2 separate regions of the Homo sapiens genome follow, and region 2 is linked to region 1. The links are contacts of gene promoters, found by promoter capture Hi-C in blood cells and fetal thymus (Javierre and others, 2016). All regions are on one chromosome and are shown on one strand. The core of a region is centred on a gene start or on the middle of the fragment in contact, and the rest is flanking DNA. Distances in the headings are between cores, read along the strand shown. Region 1 holds the start of REC8 (REC8 meiotic recombination protein). Region 2 overlaps DHRS1 (dehydrogenase/reductase 1).

Evidence for each region. Contacts are between HindIII fragments. The CHiCAGO score rates a contact against its expected background, and 5 or more counts as called.
Region 2: a contact is called between a fragment that was not itself captured here and the fragment with the promoter of REC8 in region 1, in 16 of 17 cell types (activated CD4 T cells, neutrophils, monocytes and 13 more). The highest score is 16.7, in activated CD4 T cells.

What each region holds. Positions count from the first base shown.
Region 1 is chr14:24,169,819-24,174,434 of GRCh38, reverse strand. It overlaps REC8 (REC8 meiotic recombination protein), which reads right to left and starts at 2,355. Exons shown (of 19, transcript NM_001048205.2): 1 at 1,827-2,355; 2 at 1,654-1,722; 3 at 1,394-1,536; 4 at 1,237-1,309; 5 at 1,024-1,144. The coding sequence starts at 1,882. RefSeq lists enhancers at 2,125-2,374, 2,443-2,943 and a silencer at 2,545-2,594. The HindIII fragment of the contact is 5,740 bases long and covers 935-4,616 here.
Region 2 is chr14:24,290,373-24,294,988 of GRCh38, reverse strand. It overlaps DHRS1 (dehydrogenase/reductase 1), which reads left to right. Exons shown (of 9, transcript NM_001136050.3): 5 at 2,205-2,337; 6 at 2,659-2,805; 7 at 3,364-3,433; 8 at 3,770-3,850; 9 at 3,994-4,391. The coding sequence ends at 4,130. It also overlaps a transcript of NOP9 not described here. Among named protein-coding and RNA genes, the nearest start is that of DHRS1, 7.1 kb to the left of the region's middle. The HindIII fragment of the contact is 4,352 bases long and covers 122-4,473 here.

The sequences.
Region 1 (4,616 bases), core at 1,106-3,605:
ATGGTGGCAGGCATCTGTAATCCCAGCTATTCGGGAGGCCGAGGCAGGAGAATCGCTTGACCAGAGGAAGCGGAGGTTGAAGTGAGCCAAGATCATGCCACTGCACTCCAGCCTGGGTGACAGAGACTCCATTTCAAAAAATAATAATAATAGGCCAGCGCGATGGCTCACGTCTGTAATCCTAGCACTTTGGAAAGCCAGGGTGGGTGGATCACCTGAGGTCTGGAGTTCGAGACCAGCCTGGCCGATAAGGCGAAACCCTAAAAAAATTGGGCCGGGCTCTGTGGCTCATGTCTGTAATCCCAGCACTTCAGGAGGAGGAGACAGGCAGATCATGAGGTCAGGGGTTCGAAACCAGCCTGGCCAGCATGGTGAAACCCTGTCTCAACTAAAAATACAAAATCAGTTGGGCATGGTGGCAAATGCCTGTAGTCCCAGCTACTCGGGAGGCTGAGGCAGGAGAATTGCTTGAACCGGGGAGGCAGAGGTTGCAGTAAGCTGAGATCGTGCCACTGCACTCCAGCCTGGGCCACAGAGCAAGATCCTGTCTCAAAAATAATAATAATAATAGTAATAAAATAAAAAAAGAAATAAATGGGGCATGGAGAGCCCCAAATGCTAGTAATCTGTTTGCAGCAGGAGCCACTGTTCAAATGGGGAACCAAGGAAGGGGGTGACATTAAGCTGTAGGAGTATTGGGAATAGATGGAGGAGGACAGGGGTAAGAAAGCCCAGTGCAGAGAGATGAGAGCCTGGATTAGGGCCTTGGCAGTGAAAACAGTGTGGAGACAAGTGGGGACAAGAGCTGCCTCCAGTGGGGAAACCGTCTGATCAGATTGGCCCTGAGTAGGTAAGTACAGGGGGCTTCGCCTGGATGGGTCCACCTTGGCAGTCCCCCTGCACCATCTCCTGTGGGAGAGAGCTGTGGTAAGCTTCCTTCCCCAACCCCAATGTCAGAGTGACACAGGGACAGCACTCCCCTTCTGCATTGCCAATTCACGAGTCTTGGGGAATGAGCCCTACCTGAGGGATATCGAAAGGACTAGGAAGTCTGGGATCCACAGACATCATCCCAAAAAAGGGATCTGGAGCATCTTCTAGGGTCTCCATCATGGCCAGGTGGTTAGGAAGCAGCAGGCTGGGTCTGGGAGAGAATGTAGGCCGTGAAGGACTGAGGCTGAGCCAGGCTGAGGCCAAGCTAGCAGGTGTTCCATCAAAGGCCCAGGGCACACTCACAGCTCAGTCTCCATATCTATTCGGATCTGCAGCTGGGCACGGTGGAGGCGCTCCAAGATGTGCTGGATGTCCTCTGTGGGCAGGGAGGACGAGGTAGACAGCCAGCTTAGCAGACAGCTGCTCAGCCCGCCCCACCTTTGAGGGTTCCCAGCCTTACCCACGAGGTACTGGCATTGTTGAGAATAGACGCGGATCACACCGATCTGAAGTTGGGCTGAGAGATAGAGGGAGAAGCGGGGCCGCGGCAGGCCGGGCTGCGGGGGTTGCACTCGTACCAGCACGTAATTGAGGATTTCCTCGCTGGGGAACAATGCGCCCTGATTACCGCTGCGTCCAGGAGTGGGCCCACAGTCTTGGCCACCCCATCCCCTAACTCACCCCCCGCACCAGGCCCTCCTTCCCTTTTCTGGGCCTTACCAGGTTTTCACCACATTCACCCTCAGGTATTCGCGCTTCACCAACCGGCTGCCGCGAGTCGCCGCCAGCCTGAAGTGGGTGGGGAAGGTGGGAGAATGGGGATGGAGGGGGAGCTGTCAGGCTGGGATCCCGGGCAGCGTCCGCCATCGCGCGCCAACGGGCCCCGCCCTTACCAGATGGTGGCAAAGCAGCCGGTGTGGCGCTGAAGCACGTTGGGATAGTAGAACATTGTCCCTCTGGTCTTTCACCCTCGATTCCACCAGATCCCCGTTCGGATCTGAGTCGGAATTCTTTAGGGCACAGAATTCCCAACACCTTGGAGAGAAGTCAGGATTTGGACTTCTCTGGTGGCAAGGTGGGTGCACCTAGAAAGCCAAGTTAATGAGGCAACGAACAATGGGCAGATACACAATTACCAGGATAACTGAGACGCAGGAGATGGGCGCCCCTCTCTGTGGACCCTCAGTGGATCCGCACGCCACGTGATGCGTCAAACTTGAGACTTCTGGGTTGGGTTCCAGGTTGGAGATGCAGAGCTCCAAGGGGACGTCCGGGCCGGAATCCAGAGCAGGTCCCGAGGGAGCACGGTGTCCTCCACAGCAGGCCTCGGTCCTCGAGCGCTGGGAGCGATGTCAGGCCCCTGGGCCTTGCACTGGCTTGGGCGGCCGCGGTGTGGCCCCGGGCCGCCTACTGCAGGACTAGATCGCACCGCGGGAAGCGAGCGCTTCGGGGCACCGCACCTCGCTCCTCATTAGATGGCGGCTTTTGCCCTGACAGCCAATGGGGAACGGGGGTCGGGTCGGGAACGCCAAGTATCCTGGCAACAGGGTCTCCCGAGGCAGCCAGCAAACCAATCATAAGGATTTTGCGCGCCGCTGGGGTCCATTGTGAGGTGTTCCGACCAATGGGCTCCGGTTCTCGCCTCTAGTAACAGGCGCCCCTTCCTTGACCAATGAGCGCATCCCCGTCGCTCCCCCGCCGCTCCCCCGCCGCAAGCCTGGCAACAAGGGCGCCTCAATTGGTAGGGGAGGTCGGGTCACCTCGGGGGCAACTGTACTGGGCCTCTTCCGGGTGCCAAGATGTACCTTGCACGGCGCCTGACCTGAGGTTAGACCCCGCCCTTCCCCCAATCCACAAACTCCGACTTTGTTTCCAACTAGGGCGTGTCGTGTGCTGCAGAGGAAGAAAGATGTGAGATGAGGCCGGGCGCAGTGGCTCACGCCTGTAATCCTAGCACTTTGGGAGGCCGAGGCGGGCGGATCATGAGGTTAGGAGTTCGAGTCCAGCCTGACCAATATGGTGAAACCCCGTCTCTATTAAAAATGCAAAAGTTAGCTGGGCGTGGTGGCACGCGCCTGTAATCCCAGCTACTCAGGAGGCTGAGGCAGGAGAATGCTTGAACCTGGGAGGCGGAGGTTGCAGTGAGCCGAGATCATGCAGCTCCACTCCAACCTGGGCAAGGGAGCAAGACTCCGTCTCAAAAAAAAAAAAAAAAAAAAAGGCTGTGAGATGATGGCCTTGGAGCCACCACAGGTCAATGAGGAAGAAGTCCATTTTTTTTTTTTTTGATGGCCTTGGAGCCACCACAGGTCAATGAGGAAGAAGTCCATTTTTTTTTTTTTTTTTTGAGATGGAGGCTCTCACTGTTGCCCAGGCTGGAATGCAGTGGCGCTATCTCGGCAATCTCGGCTCACTGCATCCTCTGCCCCCCATCCCCTCAGGTTCAAGCGATTCTCGTGTCTTGGCCTCCTGAGTAGCTGGGATTACAGGCGCCCTCCATCACACCCAACTAATTTTTGCATTTTTAGAAGAGACGGGATTTCACTATGTTGGCCAGGCTGGTTTCTTTTTTTTTTGAGATGGAGTTTCACTCTGTCACCCAGGCTGGAGTGCAGTGGCGCAGTCTCAGCTCATTGCAGCCTCCGCCTCCCCGGTGCAGGGGATTCTCCTGCCTCAGGCTCCCGAGTAGCTGGGATTACAGGCGCCCACCACCACACCTGGCTAAATTTTGTATTTTTTAGTAGAGACAGGGGTTTCACCATGTTGGCCAGGCTGGTCTCGAACTCCTGACCTCAGGTGATCCGCCCGCCTTGGCCTCCCAAAGTGCTGGGATTACAGGCGTGAGCCACTGCCCCCAGCTGAAGAAGTCAATCTTACACGAAACTCCGAAAGGACTTACTGGGGTCACTTCCTAAATCTGAACAACTTAGGTTATGGGCACGCCACGTGTGGTCCTTTCCCAGCTGTCAGTGTTCTCCCGGCTGAAATAGACTTTAGCATTTTTGGATGCAGCACAACTTCCTAGCCTGGAAAAGCCATATTCTCAACAATTATTGTGTAAATTTAAGAGGTACAGTTGTAATAATAACCCTTGTCCCTATGCCTCCTACCTTTGCACAGCCATTTCTTTGGCCTAGAATGTCCTTCTCTGCCTTGACTCCAGAGCATGCTTCTTCCTGAGACTTATATCTTACTGCAGCTGAGCTGACCCTATCTTCTTACAGTCCCCTTCAATTTGAGAGTTTTTTTTTTTTTTTTTTTTTTTTTTTTCTGAGATGGAATTTTGCTTGTCGCCCAGGCTGGAGTGCAATGGACCATCTTGGCTCAGTGCAACCTCCGCCTCCTGGGTTCAAGCAATTCTCCTACCTAAGCCTCCTGAGTAGCTGGGACTACAGGCATGTGCCACTATGCCTGGCTAATTTTTTTGTATTTTTAGTAGAGACAGGGTTTCAACCATGTTGGCCAGGCTGGTCTCAAACTCCTGACCTCAGGTGACACCCGCCTCGGCCTCTCAAATTACATGCCTATAGTCACAGCTACTCAGAAGGCTGAGACAGGAGGATCGATTGAGCCGAAGGTCGAGGCTGCAGTGAGCCATGATTGCACTGCTGTGCTCCAGCATGGGCGATTCTGTCAAAAAAAAAAAAAAAAAGAAAGAAAGAAAAAAAGAAATACATGAAGTG
Region 2 (4,616 bases), core at 1,048-3,547, 120 kb before region 1:
ATCAAGCTCTCCTACAAAAAGACCCTACCAATTTTTTATATCAAGACAATGAAGGGGAATATGTGTTTCCCCATGTCCTCTACCACACCAGGCAGCGTCAGCTCATGCACTCAGGCAAGCTTTGTTACTATAATAAGCCGAAAATATATAAAGGGGTTTTAATTCATACTTCTTCCACTATTTGTCAGGTTGAACTTTTTTTCCCCTTTGTTTATTGGCTCTTTGTTCTTTTGTAAATCATCTTTGACTTTCGCATTAATTTATAAGAGATCACTGTGAAACAAATGACTTTGGCATTTATTTTACAAATATTTTTCCCAATTTATCACTCATTTTTCACACGCATACTCCCCCCACTCGTCTGTTGTTGTTGTTGTTGTTGTTGTTGTTGTTGTTGTTTTGAGGTGGAATCTCGCTCTGTCACCCAGGCTAGAGTGCAGTGTGCAATCTCAGCTCACTGCAACCTCTGCCTCCTGGGTTCAAGCGATTCTCATACCTCAACCTCCCGAGTAGCTGGGATTACAGGCACCTGCCACCACGCCTGGCTAATTTTTGTATTTTTAGTAGAGAACGGGGTTTCACCGTGTTGGCTGGGCTGGTCTCGAACTCCTGATCTCAAGTGATCTACCCACCTCAGCCTCCCAAAGTGTTGGGATTATAGGCATGAGCCACCATACTCAGCCTCGCCCTGCTCTTTATATACACAGAAATATACATGTATCTTTGTATTTGTGTGTGTATGTGTGTGTATCTTAATTTTACGTCAAATCTGTCAGTCTTTTATAGTTTCTGTCTTGGTGTGACGCTAATAAAAGCCTTTTCCCTCAAGTTTATAAACACATTTGATCATGTTTTCTTTCAGTACTTCTGTGCTTTCGTTTTTTATATTTAAATATTTGATCCTTTTAGGCTTAATTTTAAAATAATAAACGAGGCAGAGACCCAATTCCCCTAACTCAAATAACTGGTCGGTTGTCCCAAATGATCCAACTTTCCCCCACTGATTTGACAGGTTCCTTTCGTAATACATTGCGTTCTCACATACACTTGTATCTAATTATTCTCTGTTTTGTTTCATTGACTTATCAGTCTACTGTTAACACCTGTATTGCATTCTTTTAACTATTATGTCTTGTACATTTTAATTTATTTTATTTTATTTTTTAGAGACGGGGTCTTGCTGTGTTGGCCAGGCTGGTCTCAAACTCCTGACCTCAAGCAATTCTCCCATCTCAGCCTCCCAAAATGCTGGGATTACAGGCATAAGCCACCATGCCTGGCCCCTGTGCATTTTAATATGGGTGACAGCAGGGGTAGGGAAAGCAATCCCCCTCACCCACAAGACATTAGTCTTTTTAGTCCTTTTTTCGGAATTTTCCTGGCTGTTCTCTTTCTTTTTATTTATTTATTTATTTTTGAGACAATCTCACTCTGTCAGCCAGGCTAGAGTGCAGTGGCACAATCTCAGCTTACTGCAACCTCCGCCTCCTGGGCTCAAGAGATCCTCCTGCCTCAGGCTCCCGAGTAGCTGGGACTATAGGCACGTACCACCACACCTGGCTAATTTTTGTATTTTTAGTACAGATGGGCTTTCACCACGTTGGCCAGGCTGGTCTCAAACTCCTGAGCTCAAGTGATCTGCCCCCCTCGCCTCCCAAAGTGCTGGGATTGCAGGCGTGAGCCACCGTGCCCAGCTTTTCTGGCTGTTCTCACGTTTATTCTTCTCATTGAGCTTTAGATTATTTTATCAATTCCTCCAAAAGGTCTTATTGAGCTATAATCCAATTTGACTGAATCTATGGATTGATTTACATAGAAATGATGATTTACATGTCAGTTCTTAGCTTTGAAAGATTTTGTCTGTACTTATTGTCATGGTTTTATAGTTTTTCTATGTAGACACTATACATTTCTTAAGTTTTCTCCCCCTGAACAATTTTGTTTGTAATTGTTATTGTGACAGGGCTCTTGCGTTCCATTTCTTCTTCCAAAGATTGCTGTTTCTCATCTGTCAGTGGTTATTTTGACCAGTTTTCCTCTCAGAATATGGCCTCAAGCCCCTAATTCCTCAGGTCGCTAACCCACCCTGTGTAGCCTTCCTAGTGGACAACAACCACCAGAAGGCAGGGGAAGCCGCCAGAGGCTGTGGCACCCAGGCCAGCACTAACACGGTTCATTCCTTCTTCCCTTGCCCCACCTTCTAGAGGCCACTACTTTTGCTCAGTGTATGGGGCACGGCTGATGGTACCAGCTGGCCAGGGGCTCATCGTGGTCATCTCCTCCCCAGGAAGCCTGCAGTATATGTTCAATGTCCCCTATGGTGTGGGCAAAGCTGCGGTGAGGACCCAGTGGCATAGGAGCTGAGGAGGTAAAAGACAGTGATGTTACCTATAGCTCAGGAGGTACAATCCCCAGTGGTCAGAATGGTAAGGCTGGCTCCTCTCAGCTCCTCCTCTGCCTCATCCATGGACAGTTCCTTTGCTTGTGCTCCTCTTGGTTGGCTAGAGTAGGCATCACACTGGGGAGCGTGGGCAGCTGAGACCTTGGGGCTCCTGGGAAGGACAGGGTGGGTGGAGCATTCACAGTAGAAGCAGAGAGGGCAGGGCAGGAAAGTGACATGGCTAGGTGGCTCTTACCCTGCCTTCCGCCTCTCCACAGTGTGACAAGCTGGCTGCTGACTGTGCCCACGAGCTGCGGCGCCATGGGGTCAGCTGTGTGTCTCTGTGGCCGGGGATTGTGCAGACAGAACTGCTGAAGGAGCATATGGCAAAGGAGGAGGTCCTGCAGGATCCTGTGTTGAAGCAGGTTGGCAAGGGGAGGGCGAAGGAAGCAGAGAACAGGGGAGTCGGCCTCTGCATCCTCAATAACAAGATCAGATACTCCCACTCACCAGGTGCTTACTGTGGCAGGTGCAGGGCTGAGCATGGGACACACATTATTTCCTTTAATCCTGTAAGGGAGATACCAGCTCCATTCTACAGATGGCAAAACTGAAACCCAGAGAGGTTTAGAAACTTGTTGAAGGTCACATATGTCCTAAGTGGAAAGGCTGTCTAGCTCCAAAGACCATGCACTTGACCCCCACACCAGCTAGCTTAGAAGGTCCAAACACTATTTGGCACTACCAGATCCTTCCACTTAGCAAAGACAGCAGATCCTGGTGCCAGGGCACAGGGCTCACCTGGATGTGGGGAGGAGTGGCTCTGGCACCTGCCAATACTTTGGGTCCTACAGGCCCTGCTTGAGGTCTTTGGCCTCTTTGGTCTTTGGTCTTTTTCTCCTGGAACAGAAGTTGAAATGGGGAGGAGACCTGGGCAGTGCTCTTGGAAATTAACCCTTCACTTCTCTGCCCCTGTGTTTCAGTTCAAATCAGCCTTCTCATCTGCGGAAACCACAGAATTGAGTGGCAAATGTGTGGTGGCTTTGGCAACAGGTGAAGTTTGGGGGCAGCTGGTAATAAGAAAGGGCATGGAGGATGTGTAGTGCGGTAGCATCCAGTGCCCAGATCTGGCTCGGGAGTTGGTTGAGGAACATGTCATTCTTTTCTCTGCTTTTTGAGGCCCAAGGGGTCAGCATTCCCAGTTTGAGGTCTGAGAGCCTTAGGAGCAGGCTCCTGGGAAGTGTGGAAAAAGTCCAAGGCCCAAGAGAAAGAGCTCTCCAGGGATCCTGAGCTCCAGGGCTCTCAGCAGTGCCCTGTCCAACTGGGCCCAAACCTTGTCACTCTGCATACTCCCCTGCCTGCCATCTCCACCTGTCTGTGTGCCCGCAGATCCCAATATCCTGAGCCTGAGTGGTAAGGTGCTGCCATCCTGTGACCTTGCTCGACGCTATGGCCTTCGGGATGTGGACGGTGAGGACCCTGGCACAGCAGTCAGCCTTGACTGCTGTTCCCTCTGTTCCCTGCCCACTCCTCCCTCGGTCTCTCCAGCCAAGGTGAGGGTATCTGAGGAGTGGGAAATGAGAATCTAATCCTCCTCCTCCTGTTGTTCCCAGGCCGCCCCGTCCAAGACTATTTGTCTTTGAGCTCTGTTCTCTCACACGTGTCCGGCCTGGGCTGGCTGGCCTCCTACCTGCCCTCCTTCCTCCGTGTGCCCAAGTGGATTATTGCCCTCTACACTAGCAAGTTCTAACCCTCCTGGTCTGACACTACGTCTCTGCTTGTCTTCTCATTTGGACTTGGTGGTTCGTCCTGTCTCAGTGAAACAGCAGCCTTTCTTGTTTACCCATACCCTTGATATGAAGAGAAGCCCTCTGCTGTGTGTCCGTGGTGAGTTCTGGGGTGCGCCTAGGTCCCTTCTTTGTGCCTTGGTTTTCCTTGTCCTTCTTTTTACTTTTTGCCTTAGTATTGAAAAATGCTCTTGGAGCTAATAAAAGTCTCATTTCTCTTTCAATGTGTTTTTGACTGCTGATTCTCTGCTCAGCAACATGTTAACAATTTGGGAGAAAGACTCAAAGATGTATAAATGTGAAGCTTCTCAAGGGGTTCTGCCCCAGGACAAGACCCCTTTCCTCCAGAACTGTTCCTGCTCTGCCCTGCAAGACCTGTTTCCCATGCCCCAGCTGAGGAGCAGAGTCGCTCCACAGCTAGAAGTGGGCACATCCAGTCTCACACTGGT